Regions from separate parts of the Homo sapiens genome. Here regions 2, 3, 4 and 5 are each linked to region 1. The links are contacts of gene promoters, found by promoter capture Hi-C in blood cells and fetal thymus (Javierre and others, 2016). All regions are on one chromosome and are shown on one strand. Each heading gives the region's core, a stretch centred on a gene start or on the middle of the fragment in contact. The rest is flanking DNA. Distances are from core to core; before and after follow the strand shown.

Region 1 (4,164 bases), core at 1,193-3,692:
GAAAATAAGCTGTGCTCAGCCTCACACAGCCTGACGCGCTTGTGGGAGGTGCCTGTGGTGCCTGAGCTGTGTCATCAAGGCCCCGGACCCCTGAGAGCTTGCACCTCCCTATTTAAACAATCAATGAGCCTGTCCCCGAAGGTTTCAGGTCAGCTACAGCTGCTCCTACTGGATGGAATGGGAAATAGAAGGCTTTGGTGGTAAGGGGCGGTGTGGGCTGGCGCATGCTGAGAATGTGCCAAGCGGCCTTTCCACACCCCAAATGCCCACCCCCAACATCCATCAGCCTTCTTGTGAAGTCCAGCAGGCTGTTCTTGTGAAGATTCTATGGTGGAACAGTAGTTATGAACAGTGACTTAACTAAGATGTCAAATGCTCTTAATAAATTTTAGTAAGTTTTTTGAATTGTGTGCTATATGTTGTTTCATGTTTCCTCAAGTTTAGTAACAACTACCTCTTCCTACAGGACTTCCCTTAGACTTTAACAAAACGCACCATAGAACAGTGCCCAGCTTGGAGAGGTCTGTGGTCATCAGGGAAAGAGGGACTGAAGAAGACAAGGGGCTGTGGAGTGGATGCAGGGTGTAGGTGGGGTAGATGTACTGCTATAGGGAGAGAAGAAAGGTGGTTTCAGCTCAGGGCAGTTCTGGGGAAGGAAAAAGAAGACCTGATCTATGAATGGCAGAGTGCAGGCAGCAGCCCAAGACACACTCCACTGACTTCAGATGTCAGGTTCCTTCCCACAAACTCTGAACTATCCTGCCTACCTCGCCTCCTCCTGATTTGTATAGAGAAGTGGTCCCAACTGTCAGGCATGTGTCTGGCCACTCTCTACACCTCGCCAGCCTTCTCTCACTGGACTCTCCATTTCCCTTTCATCCCCTGAGCTTCCTGGCACCCTTGTCCCTGCCTCCCGTTCTCCAGGACTCATCTCCTGTAACCCTTCAACTCCAGTTCTCCCAGTGACAAAGAGCCAATTCTATCAATTCTTACTAGCAGCCTGCTAGTCTCCAGAAGAAATACTCTTAGCAAAATCTGAGATAAAATCTAATCCCTGCCTAGGCCTAAAACCATGAAATATTATCAAAACTCTACATAAGGCTTACAAACTATTAAGACCAAAAGCACAAATACAGAGATAGATGCACTCTCTTCCAGTACAGAAACTGCCACTTTCAGCTTCCTTAGATTTTAAATTTTGGCCTCATCTTTATTTGCCTGATTTCATTCCTTTGAGATATAGTTGGTATTTGCAAATACAGGAAGTGTCTAACTTTTGCTTGATTTAAATAAAGTTTTAAAACCCTGAACAAATATAGTAGTACCCCATGTAAACTATAGCGTCGACTTCTAAAGTTTGAATACAATTCCAATACTCTGTTAAGTTGGCTTATATTATGTCACGGCTAAAAGAGAATTCCCCTCACAAATGCAGTTACTATTTAGTGGGAGATTCTGTAAAACTCAGCGTCAACAAAGCTCTTCCAGTTATGTCTCCTGCTTCTGGGACGGCCAGGACCTCTCCTGTACCACCCCTTCCTCTCCCTTTCCCCCAAAGGCACCTTTCAGAATTACTCTGAATGATGGAGCCCATTTTTTTCTAGAACTATAGGAAAGCTGCTTGGTAACTATGGTAACGAATACAAAAATGTTTTTTACTTATAATTGAATGCTTATTTAAAATTACAAGTATTATTTTTTCTTCCTTGAGTTTTAAGTCTATTAATGGGTTTGATTACAAAAAAGAAATCAGTACAAAGGCATCAGAAGTACTTAAAATATTCTAGTTTAATGCCGCCAGCCTTTTCCAAACTCAGTCCATCAGTATACCAAAATGACCTACTAAAATTTCAAATGAAAGGATTTAAAATGAATTTAAATATTTGCCTTTCTAACCCTATACGTCAACGCTGTAACAAGCTAAGACTGTTTCTCAGTGTTAGCAGCCTTGGCCATAACAGGCCCGAGGCAGATGTCCTAGTTTCCAGGCCAGGGTGTCTAGGACGTGACTGGTTATCAGCTCAGAGCAGCACTTGGAACTCACAAGGGACCCGGGCTAAGGAGATATTAAATCTTAAATCTTAGATATTAGATATTACAACTGAGAACTGTAATCAACATGATATACAGAGGACACTGAAGAGACGTACAACTCAGTTCCTGATGATTATCATATGCCCAAAAGCTAAGTCACGACCACATGCACAGACACAGAAACAATGCTGGCCACTGTCTACAAAAGGGTCTTCATTCAACACTCTCACGGTGTTCAAGACCATTAGAGGACAAGATAGTGGAGATGAAAAAATGATGAGGAAGTTACTATGTAAATAGCCAAGACACAGCCATAACTTAAGACAACAGAAGGGCTAGTGAAAAAAAAAAAAAAGACCACAGGGAATAATCAGTAAGACTTTAAAGAACAACATATAAGAAGGATTCAAAGTTCGAAGTGGGATGATCACGGGCAGACCTGGGTGGTTGGGAACAGGAAGCATATGGCATCTTGCAGGCTATAGGCACCACAAAATGGAACGCAGGAGGACAGGGGCTTGGGAGAGCCACTTCACTGTCGGGTAAAACAACGGAGCAAGATGAGTGCCTCCGGATGCTTGGTTTCCCCACCCTCCAGTGTCTGCTTGCTCTTCAAGTACCTCCACCAAGCTAATGACAGTCCACTTTAGGACATCACGGGCCTCGAGGTTACAACTTTCCCAGGTAAGGAGAATCCCAGGTAGAGGCAGCAAGTCACTGATGCCTGTGATATGATAATTATGCATGTCATAGAAAAAGAAAATACTGACAAATGTGAATGTAGATCACATTTTCTGGAATTGGTTCACTCTACCTGTGATCCATGTCCAAAAGCCAATTTAAGGAAAGAATTTCCACTGTAAAACCTTAAAGCTGACAGCATTCTAAGTATTTCAAACCAACTGGTTCAATAAAGATCAACTACACGGTCAGTACCTATCCTAAAGTTTACAATTTGTGTTATTGTAACAATATTTATTTCTGCAGAAGTTCTGTCCTCACCCTTTTTTCTTCCTACAGATCTTTGTTTTTTTCTCTTTCTTCTTGGGATCATAAAAAAAGAACAGATTTTAAACAGTCACATAGTGTTTCCTCTCAGAGCAGATGTGGTAGGAAGAACTGAGGCCAAGAGAATGACAGCAAACTCAGATCACAAGAGAAATAAGACTAAGAAATGTGGTGAGGGGGATGAAGAGTTTTTTTACTGTGTAAATTATGTAAATGTACATATGTATGTATGTAAATTACACCTATTAGTAATAACAACAACAAGATGAGTCAGTGTCTCTTGGTCCCAAGAGATTAAACAATTTCAGGGAGATGCACGTGTAATCCTCAAGAAAGCACAAATGGAACAAGAACTGACAATTGTTGTATAAAGGTTTTCTGTTACATTTAATCTGGAGTTCCTGGATGATCAGAGGGAAAAGACCTTCCTAAAACTAGGCCTTTTCCACAAACCACGCCCTTGGTGTCTGTGAAGCAGCAGCATCTGGACGTGCCCTGTGTTTCCTGTCCCGGGCTGTGCTCCCGCTTGGGTTTGTGGATGTGGCAGGAGCTGCCTGAGGCAGCTTCGAGGCTGCCCAGCCGGGCCATGGGTGTGGCAGCACATTGGCAACTGCCAGGGTCTGGACCCCAGCGCTGCAGGTCCTGAGCAACTCCCGTCCCTCAGAGAGAAGACAGGACCTCAGAGAGGCTCTCAATCTAAACAAACTCAGAAGGCACTTGATAAATGCTGCTAGTAATATTATTAAAAGACTGAGAAATAGAACATGCATACAAATATAGTAATTCATAATAAACCATAATTATCAAACGGACTAGACATCACACTGAAGATGCTTGGTCAGTACATTCGTATATTCATAGCTGATACTGTTAATTTCCTAAGGCTGGGACAGAAGAAGAACATTATTTTAGGATTAGGTCAAATCACTTTAAATTTGTAGGGCTGGAACAGGTAACTATTTTATCTTACTCTGAACTGTCATTATTTTCAAGATTGAATGGAAAGCAAAGAAGAAAAAACATTTGTATTAGGGTTCTCTAGAGGGACAGAACTAATGGAATATATATATATGAGTTTATTAAATATAAATATTAAATATATTTATATATAATATAAATATA
Region 2 (4,164 bases), core at 942-3,441, 400 kb before region 1:
TTTTATATGACACATAAGGCTGGGTCTAGGCAGAATTATAAATAGATTATTGCCTTTTGCCTTTTTTTTCCCTCTGTTTTCCCCCATGTCTTTCTTCATTGTCCCCATAGACCCTAATATTATAGTAGATTGTTTAGCTATCATAATAGATTCTAGACAATCAGCTGTTATTCAGTGAGTTTGTGATTTGGGGAATAATCTCTTTTTTAAAAAACACAAATTCTCACTTTAATAAGTGACTTTTGTAAACCAAGAGCTTTCCTTGTCAAATTTTCATTATAGGTTAATGATGAAATGGCAGGTAATTCACACTTTTGGACAGAGCGCACCGCCCCCGTGGAATCACCCTACAGAAGAGGCCAGCTATAAAGGATGTCTCACACCTTTAAGATCAGTGTTTCTCAATGTGTGGACCATGGATACCTGTATTAGAATACCCAAAGGATTTGTTTAAAATTCAGGCTGAGCCCTTCCCAAGACCTAATAGAGCTAAAAGCTTTGGGAGTAGGTGGAGGAAACCTGCATCTTTACCCAGCAATCCAGGTAATTTATATGCATACTACATTTTGAGACCCACTGATGAAAGAATTCTAATTTTCTATAGAGTTACTCTAGCAAGGAACCTTCTCATTTCTTATGTATTAGGTTATTTCTATATGGAACATTTCCCAGTAGACCATATTATTTATGGTATCTTATTAGGTGGAAGCCAAAAGAACGTTAAATAATCTGCTGGTGTTTTTGGGTTAGTTTTGCACTATTTCTCACAGTGCAAGCAATTCTTGTTACCTAGTAAAACGGTTCCCCCTTTGAAGGGTTGAATATTGTTCACATAGCACCCCAGCCTGTGGTGTATATGTTTAATCTGTCAAATCTCATTAAATTTTTCTTCTATAAGAATGCTAATGATACCAATTTCTAGAATTGAATGATTTCTACTCTGCCTGTTGGACTGCAAATTTGAAATCCCCTATAATAATTAGACCCCTCCTTAGAGTATATTATAATGACCATCGAACCTGTATCTAAAAATTCTAGTAACTTAACCATCCAGTCTTAAAAAAAAAAAATTAAAACAGGAATTCCAAAACAATTTCAGAAGTTAGAATAGGTGAAGTTAGCCTATTTTAGATGTGTGCAGGGATGGCAGTGGGGGGGAAAGATGGATTACTAAGTATCATTTATTTCTTGCTGGGTAAAAATTCAAACACAAGACCTTATAGCTGCCTTTTTATTACACTTGGCTTCCTTTTAGCTTTATTGGGCTTTGGTTGGTACATATGTGAATAAACTTAGACTATTATTGTATTTGACTGACAAACACTTAAAAATGAGTTTGTTCATATTCATTTTAGGTGGAGTTAGAAATGGAACCTAAATTGTAAAATATAATACAGCATGCTGCTTTTCGTTCTGGTTTTATGGTAACATTGAAACTAAAATGTTTCTTTCTAATGTGTCCATCCTGACTGCCATCCTTAAACTAGAGCCTCTTGTCTGCTATCTGAAAAGAGCAACAGCAGGAAGGAAGCAATTGATTTATACACATTTGAATTAGTCTGTAAAGCCCAAGGCCTGTGTTTGTTCAAGAAGAGACAGAGGCAGCAGTAATGCTCTGTGCATCAGGTGGATTAGTTGGAAATGTGCAAGCTATCATCTTTCTAAGAAAAGCATTTTAACAAGGCAAATTTGTGCCTAGCTCTTTTTTTTCTGTATATCTGTTGTGTTGATTTTTAATTTGGATTGTTTTCCACTGGCTTTAAAAATGCAAGTCTTTTTCAAAGAAAGGAGAAAGCATTTTGTAGCTAGTAGTATTTCAAGATTCCGTCATAATGTACATTGATTATACATCAAACTATATATAGTGTAGTTAGCTGGATGTAGACTGTGTAGCTTTGTAGTTTGCAACTTAGTTGTATATTTAAATGAGAAACAAGTGACTAACTGGATCCCATCAAGGTGGGTGTTAAGTACAGCCTCAGCCATAAAAGACTTAATCAGACCGGGTGCAGTGGCTCATGCCTATAATCCCAGCACTTTGGGAGGCCGAGGCAGGTGGATCACCTGAGGTCAGGAGTTCGAGACCAGCCTGACCAACATGGAGAAACCCCGTCTCTACTAAAAATACAAAATTAGGCGGGCATGATGGTGCATGCCTGTAATCCCATCTGAGGCAGGAGAATCACTTGAACCAGGAGGCGAGGTTGCGGTGATCCGAAATCACGCCATTGCACTCCAGCCTGGGCAACAAGAGCGAAACTCCCTCTTAAAAAAAAAAGACCTAATCAATACGTTTCCAAGGAGAAAGCGGGATTTTGAAATTCCTACTAGCTGCCAAAAGACAAAATGTTCCTGACACAGCTTTACTACCAAGTGAAAAAATTAAAAAATTCATTAGCTATAGCAAAAATCAGTTTTCAGTTTTTCCGGTTACCGGTTTTCTGGAAATCATTTGATTTTCAAATCTGCTGTTAGATTGCATTGTGCTTTTATTGAAATAGAGCATCTGGAGACTCTGCTATAGATGCTCTGCTTCAGAAATGAAGATGTCTCCATTAAATTTGGTCATAGTAGCATGAAATCTTTTAGCTGAATATAAAACATTTTGACACCTTTAAAGGATAAACGCTCATACCTTCAGGACTGTCAATTCATTTTATTAGTTATGTGGTATTAGATGCATCTCCCTTGGTGCATACTCTTAATTGTTAATTTAAAGTTCCTTGTAGTTTTAATTTTAAAGGACTTATTTGGAATGTTATTACATTTCTCTCATTTTGTAATCACCAACAGAATTTTGCCATTGCCAGATAATTTAACTAGTGCAGGAATTTGACTTTGTTATATACTCATGAGGGGCAAATTCTTTACTGATCATTTGATGGTTAGCTTTGCCAGAAGATTAGGAGTATTACTATTTCAGTTTCCCAAGATGATAAGTCTTTGAAAGTGGATAAGAGAATTGACTCAGTAAAGGTTACAGCCACAAAGACAGCAAAATTGTAAAATCATTCTCATTGCTGATAAAATTGAGTCTTTAAATGCATAGTTGCATACATGCATGAATGCGTGCACACACACACACACACACACACACACACACACACACACACACTTTGGGAATGTAATCTGTAAAATGTGTTGCCAGTCTCAGAGGAAACTGTAAAATAAGTGGAGTTTTCGTTGTCCTGGCTTTCTTTTCTGCTTCTTTTTATTGATTTTTAAATTAGCCTACCCCAATATCTTCCAGGGAATTTTTAAAAAGTTATCTTTCTCTCTTTCTTGAGGTTCCTCATATACTCTCACTCACACGCACATTTTCACGAGAGCGAAGTCTACCTTTAACTGAAATGAATGACTGCTGAATGGTCAGGAACTCCAAGTCCACATGGAATTCTTGCTCTTCGGTCCCAGACTCTCCCTTCTGTGTCCCCCTTAGGCAGGTGAGCATTCTGTAGTTTGTAGCCACAGCTCCACCTGGTTTGGGTTTTCTTCCTGTCATTGCCTTATTCCAGTTAATCATTACCTAGACTAGTTGCTAAGCTGAAAATTCATGTTGTGGAATTTCATATTGGATAACATAGTTACTTTTCTTGTTTTTTAAACAATGCTTTCAAAAAATAAAGGAAAAAAACGAATCTCTTAATTATAGCATTTTGGAGCCTTAACATTTGATCAGCATTTAAAAGCAGTGTTACATGTTTGAATTGTGGTGGTTCTTGAAACTGTTTTACTGCCTTCTTTGTCCTCATGGAGAATGTTGTCCTAAGCACAGAACTTGTCATTCGAGTATCTTGAGGATTTGTACAAATTGTTTATCCTGTGACATCAATTCTTTGTGCTAACTGGTTTCTGCCTTTGACAAGGCTTTTGAAATTTGTGCAACAAAAGCTTCCATGGGTGAACGACAATGTAGTTTTGTTCACTGCTAATTCCTGGAGTGGTTAACACTGTTTGGGGTGATACCTTGTTTAAAGCAGACAAGAAAATATGTGAGGATAGCTGTGGAAATAGAAAATATAAAAATTTTAACATTCTCACACTGAGTGACTTTTCATGTAAAGGTTTATTTCCTTTCAGAAATGCTGTCACTTTACTCAATTCAGTGATTTTTTATTTTTTCAAATTAATATTAGTTTGTTTTGACAAATGAGTTTATCAGAT
Region 3 (4,164 bases), core at 806-3,305, 380 kb before region 1:
CCGAGGAGGGTGGATCACTTGAGGCCAGGGGCTTGAGACCAGCCTGGCCAATATGGTGAAACCCTGTCTCTACTGAAAACAGGAAAATGAGCCAGGCATGGTGGCTCACACTTGTAATCCCATCTACTTGGGAGGCTGAGGCAGGAGGATGACTTGAACCTGGGAGGGGGAGGTTGCAGTGAGCCGAGATCGTGCCACTGCACTCCAGCATTGGTCACAGAGAGAGACTCCATTTCAAAAAATAAATAATTTCAGTAGAGATTCTAGTTCTACTGAAGTGACAAAAACATATAGAAAAAAGTAAAATTCACCTAATGCTCTTTTTTTACTGGCATGGTTGGTATCAGACAACAATTTTAACATCAGCAAAACTGGCAAAAATGATTAGTTTTTTTAACTGCCTATATTTGGCTTCACACAGTAGCAGTTTAGCACTCAGAGCTGTAAACGTCTGTCCATTGACTGTCCCAGAGACTGAATGATCACTGACCTACTACTGTTTCTTCACCCAGTCCTCCCTGAAGCCACTATGCTGTCATACGGTGGCCTGTGTGGGGACCTACCTAGATCAGCATGTAAGAAAGATACTTCACTTCCCATGTTTTCTTGCCAAGATAATGCCCACTTTGTGCTCCTCATTTCCTCTTTTTCACTGCTTGTTCTGATAGTAATTCTAGTAATAGCCTTTTGTACATACACATAATCTCTTTAACTGTCTGCATCTTCCTTCTCACCCAAGGATAGCCTTTTGCATATAAACATATTCTCTTTAATTACCTGCCTCTTCTTTCTTTCTCACCAAAGGAACGTAAAGAACATCCTGCCCAGCCTTCTAGGCATTCCTTCAATAATTTTCGGGTGCCTGTGCATGACACTACACTGGTTTTATAGTCGATAAAGTTTGGATACGACATTAGTTCTACATTCATAAAGCTTGTACTCTCACAGACATGACAATTTATAAACTAAAAACTGTAAGATGAAGTAGAAAATGTGTCAGACTATAAGAGACTTTTTCTACTCCTTTTTTTCATTTTCAAATTAAAAATGCATTCGTGTAGAATTTCAGATGTTCTACATTATTATTTGATATAGTGTAGAAAAAGGAAATGTTGAAACTAAAAAATGAGCACATGTTGGTCATCAGTTGGGGTGTAGGCTTTGTTCATTTATTTGTTAACCCAGCAAATAATTGAGTGGCCAAGCATTGTATTGGATGCTTGAGAAGTTAAGGAAAAGACCTTGCCCTCCTCCAGTTGAAAGCTCGGGTGCAGTGGTCCAGGAGGCAGGAAGGCATGGAAACCGCATGTGCGTGGTATACTGTCTGCGACTCCCTGGGCCCCATCTGGTGGCTAAGAGGGATCCAGCTAAAAAGCTTCATCAGGAAGGTTAGTCTCAAGGCTTTTGAAGATGGTAGGGCATGTGATTTTACAAAAAGATGGCTGTGAGGGGTGGGGAAGCAAGCCAAGGAAACTAAATAGACCTCTTTGGGAGGGTGAATGTTTCCTAAGTCTTTGATTCAAACTTGGCTAAGGGCAAAGGACAAGGGAAATCCCATAATTTTGAGAAAGGGAATGATGTAAATATAATGTGATGGTAGTTTTACATCTTTTAAATGACTTTATCTTTTAGGCTGGGAAAGAGTAAATGCAGGTCAGCCACCTATTTATGAGTCCCAGTTCATCTTTTTTAGAAAGTCAGATAACACTTTTCAAGACATACTGCTTATTAATCCTAGACATGAGAGACTTATGAAAGGCAAAAGATATGGTGATGCTTCACTTAACTAAATCCCAGAAAATGTTGGCTCCCCTTCTAAAAATCTTGAAATACAGTGTTTTTTGGAACATTAATAAGAAGACAGCTTGCTATCACCAAATTGTTAGTCTGCATTAGAAACTCAAAACTGCTAACAGATGCACCCAGCAGATTTTTAAATATGGAATTATTTCAGCCAGCTGCCAAATCATTGATCTATGTAACTTTTTAAAATATGAAATATACATATGAATCTACATAACTGTTCAATTGACAAATGTTCCTGTTTGTAGTGTATACCATGAACACTTGATTTCCAAACTGAGACTTGCCTTGACTAGAACTAAGCTACTTAGATTAACTCAGTAGTCTAAAAACAATTTAGATTAAGTTTTTTAGAGTAGGGTTTAGGTCTTAGTCCTGATTTTCTCCTTTAACTAACTAACACTGGATAGGTCTCAGCATGCCTGAGAATTTTCCACATTCCTTTAAAACCATGTTTCGAGTTTGTACATATGAGATTTATACGATGCACATATAATCAGTGTATGTTGTTAGAATATATTTAGAAAAACTCCCCACGTGTTCACATTAATTAGGTAATGAATTTACTAAAGCACATGGGCCCAGGTCCACTATGTGCCCACATACATTAGTCATACTTGCTCCCATGAAGGAGTTGAATAGCAGAGGAGTGATAAACAGAACATCGCTCCTGTTCCCTTTAGAAGCTAGACTCCAGTCCTGGACATATCTGTCTGTCAACTCTAAACCCCATCTATTTGGGGGTTTGTTTAAAATGGGTGCACACAAGAGAGTTGTCAGCCCAGGCTCCCTGGACCTGTGGCCACATGGTATGAGACGGAGACCTAAGTTTAGCCAGTCCTGTCCACACACCCACCCAATCCACCCAACTAGATGCCTCTTTAAAAAATAAGCAAGTGTATCTCCCATTTTTATAATAAAATTCCACTTATGAAGCTTCTCAATTTTGCAAAATTTTCCTTTTGTAATTTTTTAAACTTTTGTTAAATTTTAAGAGTCTTTATCTGTCCCTTTATATAGATAAAATTGGGTCTCAGAATATTCCTATTTATTTTTTCATTATGATCCTATTTTTTAAATCATACAAATAATGCATACTGTAGAAAATAGTATAAGATAGAGGTAAGTATGGAAAAAATAAATCACATGATTCTAAATCCGAGCATTTTTTATTCTTAAAAAAACAGGAGAATTCTGTTTGCCATACAGAATAAAACACTGCAAAAAGAAAATTGTTTTAAAGAGTACCAGACAGTGTAGAGTAGAGGAGGCATCATTCGTTCTGGAGTCCCCAGAGCTGGGCTTTCAGCCTGGTTTTGCCACTTACACAATATGTTGCCTTGAGCCATAGGCCTACTCTCTTCGAAAATGGGGATAATGATGCCCGTCTGTCCAGGGTGCTGATGGGAATCCATCGCAGAGGCAGAGTGTAAAGCAAATGGGTGGGTGTTATCAAGTATAAGACTGTGCATAATACATGTCATTGATCACATATACCTAAAGTGCTGCTCTTACTAGAACATTTTTTGGAAGACAGATTTCAAAGGGTTCTGAGATGAATTTAGTGGACAGAGTTTTGAATCCGAAAGCTGTTTTAGTTTGCTTTTAATAGAATACCTAAAACAGTAATTTATAAATAAAAGGAATTTATTTCCTACAGTTATGGAGGCTGAGAAGTCCAGGGTCAAGGGGCTGCATCTGGTGAGGGCCTTCTTGCTGATGGGGACTCTGCAGAGTCCTGAGGTGGTCCTGGGCATCACAGGGCAAGGGGGCTGAGTGTGCTAGCACAGGTCTCTCTTCCTCCTTTTGTAAAACTACCAGTCCCATTCCCATGATTACCTATTAATCCAGTCATCCATGAATGGATTAGCCCATTCATGAGGGCAGAGCCTTCATGACCAAATCACCTCTTAAAGGCCCAACCTCTCAATGGCGCCACGTTGGGGATTAAGTTTCAGCATGAGTTTCAGATGGGTGGACATTCCAATCATTGCAAAAGCTGACACGAGGGATGATAAACTCACAGTATAATCTTGCTAGTATGTGTAAGGTGACATATAATCCTAATGAAAAAGAAAGGAGGTTCTTGTGCCCCCAGTCTACTCTCTGACGGGCCAAATCTGAAAGGACCAGCACAGGAGAGGCAGACTCCTACCTAATTCAAGAAGAATGTGGAAGAGAGGTACAGAACTGTAAAGGCAAATCAGGAGGCTGGAAGTTGGTTTGAGGATGAAGCTTATGTAAAAACAAGTGCCTGTGGCATTATGTTAATAAATGACAAAGCCAGAACTCCATGTCAGAAGGAGCTAAAGCCTAAAATAGGTGGGAAGATGATGAGGTTGTCCCTAGTTGTTCTCAAAG
Region 4 (4,164 bases), core at 1,013-3,512, 360 kb before region 1:
TGAAAAATATTTCAGCCACCTTTCTTGTCACACATGACAGGATGCCTTAAAAATAAATGATGCTGGGCGCAATGGCTTACGCCTGTAATCCCAGCAGTTTGGAAGGCCAAGGTGGGTGGATCACCTGAGGTCAGGAGTTCGAGATCAGCCTGGCCAAAATGATGAAACCCTGTTTCTATTAAAAAATACAAAACAATTAGCCAGGCGTGGTGGCGCCTGCCTGTAGTCCCGGCTACTCGGGGCTGAGGCAAGAGAATCGCTTGAACCCGGGAGGCGGAGGTTGCGGTGAGCCGAGATTGTGCCACTGCACTCCAGCCTGGGCGACAGAGCAAGACTCCATCTCAAAGGAAAAAAAAAAAAAAGTATTCATTTTAGGGTGAGACTTAACTATGTTTAGGTCCCATGTCTGCTACCAGACATGTGTCTTGGTAAAGTTACTTGGCGGAGTTACTTAAACTAGTCCAACTAGTTGAATTATATAACTAGATAGTAGGCTCTTACAGAATGCTTCCATGTCATTATACTTATGAATGTATTTTTCAGCTTTTATGCGATTATTTGTTAATTTAAGAAAGCCAGCAGGGACAAAAAAAGACACTTCTTTGACCTTAATACAGCAAAAGATGTGAAAACATGGAGATGTGTATTTTCAGAATTCTTTACCCATCACTCTATCATTTAAGATTTTAATGGACTTCAAGATGCTAATATTTTGAAAATTCTCTGGAAGTTCACCTGGTTCTCAACTCCAAGCTGAACGAGGACCACGGACACCCAGGTGTAGGTATTTTGTAAGCCACAGCTTGAGATGGTCATACCTGGTTATGCTCTGTAAGGAGCTAAGAAGGCAGGACCATATGATCCTATTAAAAGGTAGCACTGGATGGCCTTCTTTTTAGACGTGCTCCACTGAAGCCTTTTAGTCTACATGTGAAGGAACCAAGGCCCAACAAGTTTAGGTGACTGTGTTAGTCATTGGCAGAATCATGTGTGGAGCCTGGGTCAGCTGACTTCCAGGACGGGGCTGTCTCCTGAACCATTCCAGCATTTGGAGAGCAATGAACACTGCATGACGTGGTTCTTCCTGCTCTGTTGGAAGAAGGCATGGCATTTTAGAGCACAGAAATTCATCAAACATTGAAACATTTGCTGTTGTATTGACACCATCTTTTCTTTAGGAATGATCTTGGAAAAAACTAGGAAAAGTTATTCCATTGACCAGTGATGACCAGTTATTGTTCCTTTTGTCAACAGGCAAGATGATGATGAATGAAGTCCTGGCAGCTTCCTGTGTCCCAGGCCTTGTAGAAATAAATGAGACAGACGTGCTTCAAAGTTCTAATGTGCATCACATCGGATCTTGTTTAAGGAAGCGTTAAAAGGAACCCGCCGTTACCTATTGAGAAGGCTCTGTACTCTCAGGCATTGTTTCTGATTGAATCCAGAGGTTGCAAGCATGCCTTCCTGTATTACCTGTTGGAGCAGGTTTAATTTTATAAATTTTAAACACAAACTCTATGAGTTTCTAGTTCATAATTGTTCTTTTTGGGGATCCACTCAGATGAACAGTATTGCATCTGTAAGAGATACCCACTTCCCAGGACCAGATTTGATTGGAATATCAGTGGCAACAGACTCCATCTGTAGCTCATCCAGTACCAGTGATGGAAAGGACAGATGGCAAGGAAACCCTTTCGGGGGGAAAAAGAAAGTCATATTGTGTTGGACCTACAGATTACTAGAAACATAGCTTTAGTAAACCAAGGCTTTTTTTCTTGAACACAATCTGTGTAGACTGTGTAGTTCTTGATTGGTGGCTTTAATCCATTATCATTAGGTATCTCCTTGAACGTTCTCAAACACTGAAAGTCTTAAGCTTTCATTAAAAAAAAAAGAGTAAATGCAGCTTTCAGAAAATCCAGGATTCTGTACAGTCTTCGAGTGTTTCACTTCAGCCTCCCTGTCCTGTTATTACCAACAGCAGGTACCCGGGTGGTAGACAAGAAGCCTCATGGGATAGATAAGGAAATGAAGATAAACAAACATATCACACTGTATCGTAAACATACTTTATAAGTACATTTCTTATTAGCTTCTTATCCAGGTAGAGATTATAAAAATTTGCTGCAAGTATCCAGACCAGAATTTATGTTTTGGAAATTATCAGTGTTCACAATACCTGCAGGGAAGAAAAAAATACAAAAACTCAAATATGAATACTCTTTACACCCAAAAGAATATTTTTATCATTCTTTTATTTGTTTTTGGCTCTGTCAAAAATTAAAGTGCTTGGAATGCTGTAGTCTGTGGTCTCTTGAAATTTAATCAATGAGAACTTAGCATTTTCACAGTATGCTGTCACTTTGGACATTCATAATAAAAATTGAAACTAATTTTGGGTGTTAGTCATTTATTTTGCTGTGTAGCTTAGTGCACCTTTTGTGGTCTGTCTGTGCCTAGTAACTGAGCAGTTTGTATGTATAGAGATATAGAGATAGATTCATAGTTCAAGCCTTTCACTGTTGTTTTCTATATTTGAACAACCACTCTTTTTATTTATTGAAAGGCCAAGAGATTTTTGAATGCCAAGGCCTTTTTGAATATGCATTCTATAACACAGATTAAAATTAATTCCTGAGGATTATACCTAAGCTTTCTTGAGTTTCTCCTTACAGCAGATTTTCTATTAAATTGATTATATTTTCTATTAAGTAGTAAGTAGGAAACTAGAGAAGGCTATAGGTAATATAGTGGCAATTATAGGCTTTTCAATAGGATCTTTTTTGTTTGACTCTCTGCCCGGTAGTGTTGGAGTATTGTTTTATGTATTCCATCATATTGCAGTTAGAAATAAAACAGCTCCAGAGAAACACAGACATGTGAGCCTATGTAGAAAACTTAGATCTTGCTTGGCACCTCTACCAAATTTGATATGGCAATGAGAAAAGATCCCTTTCCTTCTATTCTTTTGTAACTAAACCTACAATTGGCAAACATCCATCTAGCTCCCACTTCCCACCCCCTCAAGCCTCTACCCCCCACAAAGGAACAGTATGGATTTGTGACTAACCTCACCATTCTTGTGCACATATGAGCAAATGATTTGGGAAATTAAATTGGAAAAAAAAACAAATAGAAGTTTCTGAGGTTCTTTTCGCTGGATAGGGTGAGAGGAGAAACAGAATAGCAAATGAAGGTAAAAGAGGATCATTCCTTCAGCACTGGGTGCATATCCAGTCAGCACTTAGCTGGAGGTGCTTTTCCAATGACCAGGTGCACACGAAGGCCCATCTGTTGGAAGAGTAATCTTTTTAAAATCCCAAGGCAGCATAATGGGGGCAGAGGTTGATGCTTTTGTTCCCTGGATGAATTCCCTCTTCAGAAGCTCCTGCTCCCCTCGACCTGAGCATCTGGACAGGCTCTCTGTGTGAATCGGCATGAATATTGAACAGTCCACACTCCCTCCCTGCTTCAGTCCATGGCAAAGGAAAGCTTTCGAAAGTCACCGTTCTCCAGGGACGTTAAGCATTTCGAGCTGGTTTTTAAAACAGTATTAAGTGACTTTGACAAACTGGAGCTATTTGGTATTTGCACAATTAGAAAGAATCCCCCATGGGGGTTGTTTGGCTTTGTGAGTAAATGCTGGCCTCTCACTTGAATTCCAATACAGAGATCTCATTCAAATGAGATGGGTGGTCTTATGCAATTTCTTTGCGGTTCATAAATTCCTCATAGAGGGGGAAAAACTATTTCAGAATGGCCTCCACAAAGGAATTACACGTAGATGATTACTTTTATCCGGAGTAATTTGTGTTTTAAATGATTTAAAAGTATAAGCAGTTAAGGAAGTCGTGAAGTTTGATGCTTCAGAAGAAAGCCTCCTTTCATTCATTATTAGTGATTTCTCCAAATCCACTATTTCTGCATCTATGTATGAAAATTGAAGAACATTCCAGACTATGGCGGTGGCATCAAATCCAATCATTTTTATAGCGGGGCTTTCTCTTGGAGGACTCTTTAAAGGTTACAGAGAGAGGCAGCTTGGCACAGTGTGTAGATTGGTTCATAGTTACTGTTTTATAGATGTTTACTGTACCTTTTAGTATCTGTGAAAAATATTCCTTTTATTTCTTCTGAGGCACACATCTCTTTCAAAACGTTTTT
Region 5 (4,164 bases), core at 782-3,281, 330 kb before region 1:
CAGTTAAGCCATGCGTGGTGATGGAGGCAGCACTGTCTGGACTGGTCTCAGAGCAATTCCTTTTTTTTTTGAGACAGGGTCTCTCTCTGTCGCCCAGGCTGAAGTACAGTGGGATGATCTCGGCTCACTGCAACCTCCACCTCCTGGATACAAGCCATTCTCCTGCCTCAGCCTCCCAAGTAGCTAGGATTACAGACATGTGCCGCCACGCCAGGCTAATTTTTTTTTTCTCTTTTAATTTTGATATTTTTAGTAGGGTTGGGGTTTCATCGTGTTGGCCAGGCTGGTCTCAAACTCCTGACCTCAAGTGATCCACCCGCCTCGACCTCCCAAAGTGCTGGGATTTCAGGCATGAGCCACCATACCTGACCCAGGTACCCAACTTTAAAGAAGAAAGTTTGGTCACAATACCATCTCCTTTTTAAGGGATGAATTGTTTAGGTTCATTTGGCGGTTTTCTAATCTTAACGTTCCGTGGCTTAACATTCAGCACTGAGAACTGAGGATTTGAATTCTGATTTGAGAACTTGATCTGATGAATGTAATGAAGGCATTTCTTTCTCCACCTCCCTTTCCTGGAGGTGCTGCGTACCTTTGCCTTTACTGTATCCTCAGATCAGCTTAGTGGGGCTCCTGCCTGTAGCGAGAAACTAATACCCTCTGTCAAATCTCCTGTATGCATATTTTTAAGCTCCAGATGAACGTTCCTTTTTAAAGAACTTTTACAACAGATTTGTTGTAAGACGTTAAGCTAGAAAGAAGTATTATCCTACACTGCTCTTATACTCTTGTGTTTGGGGTTGGTGGCCTGATTTTTCTTTTGAGGATATGTCTCATCGATGTAATTCTAAAACAATTTTAAACCCACAGATTAAGAACATATGTTTCTTCATGGCACATGTTGAGAAAGACTTCAACTCATTCTGCAGTCTTTACTGAAGAATGTCTTTAAAGCAAAATTGCAACTGGTCAGCTCTATTATCTACAAATTTTATCAAGTCTTGACCCAGAGAGTCAGACCAAAGGCTTATCTGACCTTGTATTCTTCCTCTGACAAAGGCCCCAGTTTTTTCAATTGTTGTGTGGGAAAGGTGGGTGGGGTGGGGAGGGTGATGAGGCGGAAAGATGTTTTCCTTCCCTTGTGTCAGTCACAGAATGTCAGGAATGTTCCTCAAAGGTAGATCTTCAGCATGACCTTTGCTAACTCCTTCTTGAATTTATTTATAGTTTATCTGCTACCTCTTGGGACATAAGTTTCAAATGCTTATTATCTGCAGTAGTACAGTACTTCCTCTTTTTGTCCTAAAATCATTTCTTTCAAGCTTCAAGGAGCACCCTGGGTCTCAGTATTTGGAAGCGATGATTACATCTGTATTTTCTCCATTCGGTTCAGCTTGATCCCAGAGGCTCTGATGGTATCTGCTCAGCCTTTGTCAAGACTGAGCAGGCTAATTTTAGTTTAGAAAATGGAAATTTTTCAAAGGAAACTTCCTCCACTAGACAAATTGTTTTTGACCTGAGGTTTTGATCAGGGTACAGTGGTCCTCATTGTTGAAATGCAGGAACACTTCTTGTTGACCGCTAACAAAGGGTTAAACATCACGGGCAGTGTTAGAACAAGTTAAAAACAGAACCTATCCAAAGCATATAACGTGCACTCCAAAATAAGCCAGGCTCGCTCCTTGTTAATGGGATCATTGCAGACATGCCAAATTCTACAACTAGTCAATTGTATACATATGGTAAAACTTTTCATACCATTCAACATTTGCTGCAATATGATTTTAATTACATACAGATTGGGTAGCTGGAAGAAAGCACTGGAATTAAATAGAAGAAAGTTCAACACAAGCTCTTTTATAAGCGGCCCTGGTTTAGGTTAGGATGTATGCAAATGACTGCCAGGGACAGGAAGAGGAATGTGTGGTTTGGAGGACTCTGGGGATGGGACATGACTCATCTTCAACCTGGGAACACAGTTGTTTATCTGGAAGGGAGAGTTTACAGAAACGGTGATTATATTCCTTTTGAAGTTGCAACTTATGCTGATGCTTGCACCTTGTTACTTACATTCTTCCTTCCCAAGTATAGGGTAGTCTCTGCAGACAAAGTTGCTCTCTGGGCAAAAATTGCATTCAGTTGGAAAAGTGGTGGGGGTTGGATATGAGAGAATGGTACTTCTGAAAATGGTACTTCTGAAACTCCCCCCCCTTTATTAGGCTGTGTTTCTTGTTTCTTTGAAGTTAATTTTACATAATGATTTCAAACGTGGTGCTGTTTATTTTATGCAAGAAAAGAGCTGGGAAGCACATTTTGTTTCAGATTCTGAAATGGCGATGGCCGTTGTGGGAGCGTGGATGGGCCTTTGCCTTTTACAGAGGGGGAAACCGCCACTCTGGAATGTGCTTTCCTCAAACTTTCATGGCATATCTTTGGTTTTTCTCATAACTTACTGGAATGGCTTTTACTGACTAAATATCTTTTTGGTGAGCCGCTCTGCATCTCAGCTTTCTCTTTTGTGAAATGAAGATAACATCCCCCAGCGCTTACTTCATGAGGTTTTTGTCTGAAGAAGTTTGAAGACTTCAAGACACAAAACCTGACTGAACTGCAGAGCCTGCGAGCATCTCCCAGGGAAAAGATGGAGTTAGTGTAAGAAGGATGTGGAACGAGCCCTGCTTTCTAGAACCAGTCCTGTCATCACAGCAGGCCATCTCCAGGATGGGGATGGGGGTGCCGGGAAGCTTAGTGTAGGGGCCAGCAGAGGCTCCAGGGAGAAGGGGACTGGGCCTCCTGGGAGCCCCAGTCACAGAGTGGGTGAGCCAGTGGATCCCAGGTGTGGGGGAAGACAACAGACCCACCCCAACATCATCTTTGGCCAGGAAACTTCATTAGCAGTTTCCACCTGCTCTGCAGCCTCTTGGCTCACCTGGATGTGGCCATAGCAGTGACAAGCATCTGTATCCATGCTCATCCGCCTCTCCCGGTGAATATTCATGTACAGAAATGAATCTGCAGACATACACACTCTAGTCTACTTCTCTGTCGTTTGGGCTTTAGCTAAGTCATTTTTTCTTGAGAAAGTCACCAGTTTTAGCCTAGAGGGAGTTGTGGACTTATGATCTATTTGATTAAATAATTAAGTTATTTATTTACATTTCTCCCTAATAAATATCTGTAGGTTGGAATATCTTACTTTGAGGGAGATGGCAGGACTAACTAGCTAAAATGTAGCCTCTAGTTATGAATTTCTTGAGGGCAGTTTCCACATCTTACCCTCTTTTGCTGGGTAAGTAAAGACTAGATGAATAACTCTAAAGTTAATTTCACTTTGTCGAAATGGATTTTTTAATGGATTGCTTAATGTGTTCAGATATATACAATAATGACATCTACCAGTCATACAAGTAAGTTTCTCCCTGTTTCAAAAGAAAGGAAGGATGGAAGGATAAAAGGAAGAGAAGGAGGAAAGTCATTTGTACTTCATTTCAAATAGGAATTCCTCATTTCTTCTTTGGTATTTACACCAGTGGCCTTAACATATTGATCCCAAGCAAAATTAAATACTTCTAGAAGCCACTTTTACGGAGCCCCAGTACTCAGTTATCAAGTCCTAAAGAAGCAGGAGATACTGAATTTAGCTGCAGGGGATCTTTTGCTGTGCAAGGCACCCCAAAGAAGTCACGTTATACATAGAGTGCCACCGTCCTGTGCCCACTTTGCCATCTGCCACCTCCCTTGTTGAGACCACAGTTTTCTGGGGTCTGGGCTAAACTCAGCCACACAGAGACCATCTTCCCTCACATTGGGAAAGGGGACAGGTGCATGGGGGTGAGACGGGCTTGATCAGCACGAAGAGGCTGGCTGCTTTATATGCGGTGTGACTCAGGCCTCTTGCTCCAGGGTCTGACTTCCCTCTTGCTGACCTTTACCACTTTGCCATTGGGTTCCTAACCCACTCACGTGCGAAGAGAACGCCAGACAGTAACATAGGGAAGGGCATTCTAAGCACTGGAGAGGAAGTAAACATGTGCGGGTGTCTAAGAACATGGCAAATTTTTGGATAACAGAAAGTTTACCATTGTTGGAATGTAGGAAAAAGGGATGAGTGGGAATTTACTGGATATAAGGCTGGTGCGCCAGATCGGGACCAACTTGCACTCA

The links. Contacts are between HindIII fragments. The CHiCAGO score rates a contact against its expected background, and 5 or more counts as called.
Region 2: a fragment that was not itself captured here is called in contact with the fragment with the promoter of CLDN20 in region 1 in 1 of 17 cell types (M2 macrophages); the score reaches 5.0 in M2 macrophages.
Region 3: a contact is called between a fragment that was not itself captured here and the fragment with the promoter of CLDN20 in region 1, in 3 of 17 cell types (M2 macrophages, endothelial precursors and M1 macrophages). The highest score is 7.5, in M2 macrophages.
Region 4: a contact is called between a fragment that was not itself captured here and the fragment with the promoter of CLDN20 in region 1, in 7 of 17 cell types (M2 macrophages, megakaryocytes, M0 macrophages and 4 more). The highest score is 7.0, in M2 macrophages.
Region 5: a contact is called between a fragment that was not itself captured here and the fragment with the promoter of CLDN20 in region 1, in 8 of 17 cell types (M1 macrophages, M0 macrophages, M2 macrophages and 5 more). The highest score is 8.6, in M1 macrophages.

What each region holds. Positions count from the first base shown.
Region 1 is chr6:155,261,571-155,265,734 of GRCh38, forward strand. It overlaps CLDN20 (claudin 20), which reads left to right and starts at 2,443. Exons shown (of 2, transcript NM_001001346.3): 1 at 2,443-2,718. All of the region lies in intron 5 of TFB1M (transcription factor B1, mitochondrial), which reads right to left. The HindIII fragment of the contact is 9,121 bases long and covers 1-4,164 here.
Region 2 is chr6:154,860,456-154,864,619 of GRCh38, forward strand. No RefSeq gene overlaps it. Among named protein-coding and RNA genes, the nearest start is that of MIR1273C, 9.2 kb to the left of the region's middle. RefSeq lists silencers at 2,887-3,087, 3,320-3,614. The HindIII fragment of the contact is 3,395 bases long and covers 495-3,889 here.
Region 3 is chr6:154,884,817-154,888,980 of GRCh38, forward strand. No RefSeq gene overlaps it. Among named protein-coding and RNA genes, the nearest start is that of MIR1273C, 34 kb to the left of the region's middle. The HindIII fragment of the contact is 1,364 bases long and covers 1,374-2,737 here.
Region 4 is chr6:154,906,476-154,910,639 of GRCh38, forward strand. No RefSeq gene overlaps it. Among named protein-coding and RNA genes, the nearest start is that of MIR1273C, 55 kb to the left of the region's middle. The HindIII fragment of the contact is 776 bases long and covers 1,875-2,650 here.
Region 5 is chr6:154,930,939-154,935,102 of GRCh38, forward strand. No RefSeq gene overlaps it. Among named protein-coding and RNA genes, the nearest start is that of TIAM2, 62 kb to the right of the region's middle. The HindIII fragment of the contact is 1,422 bases long and covers 1,321-2,742 here.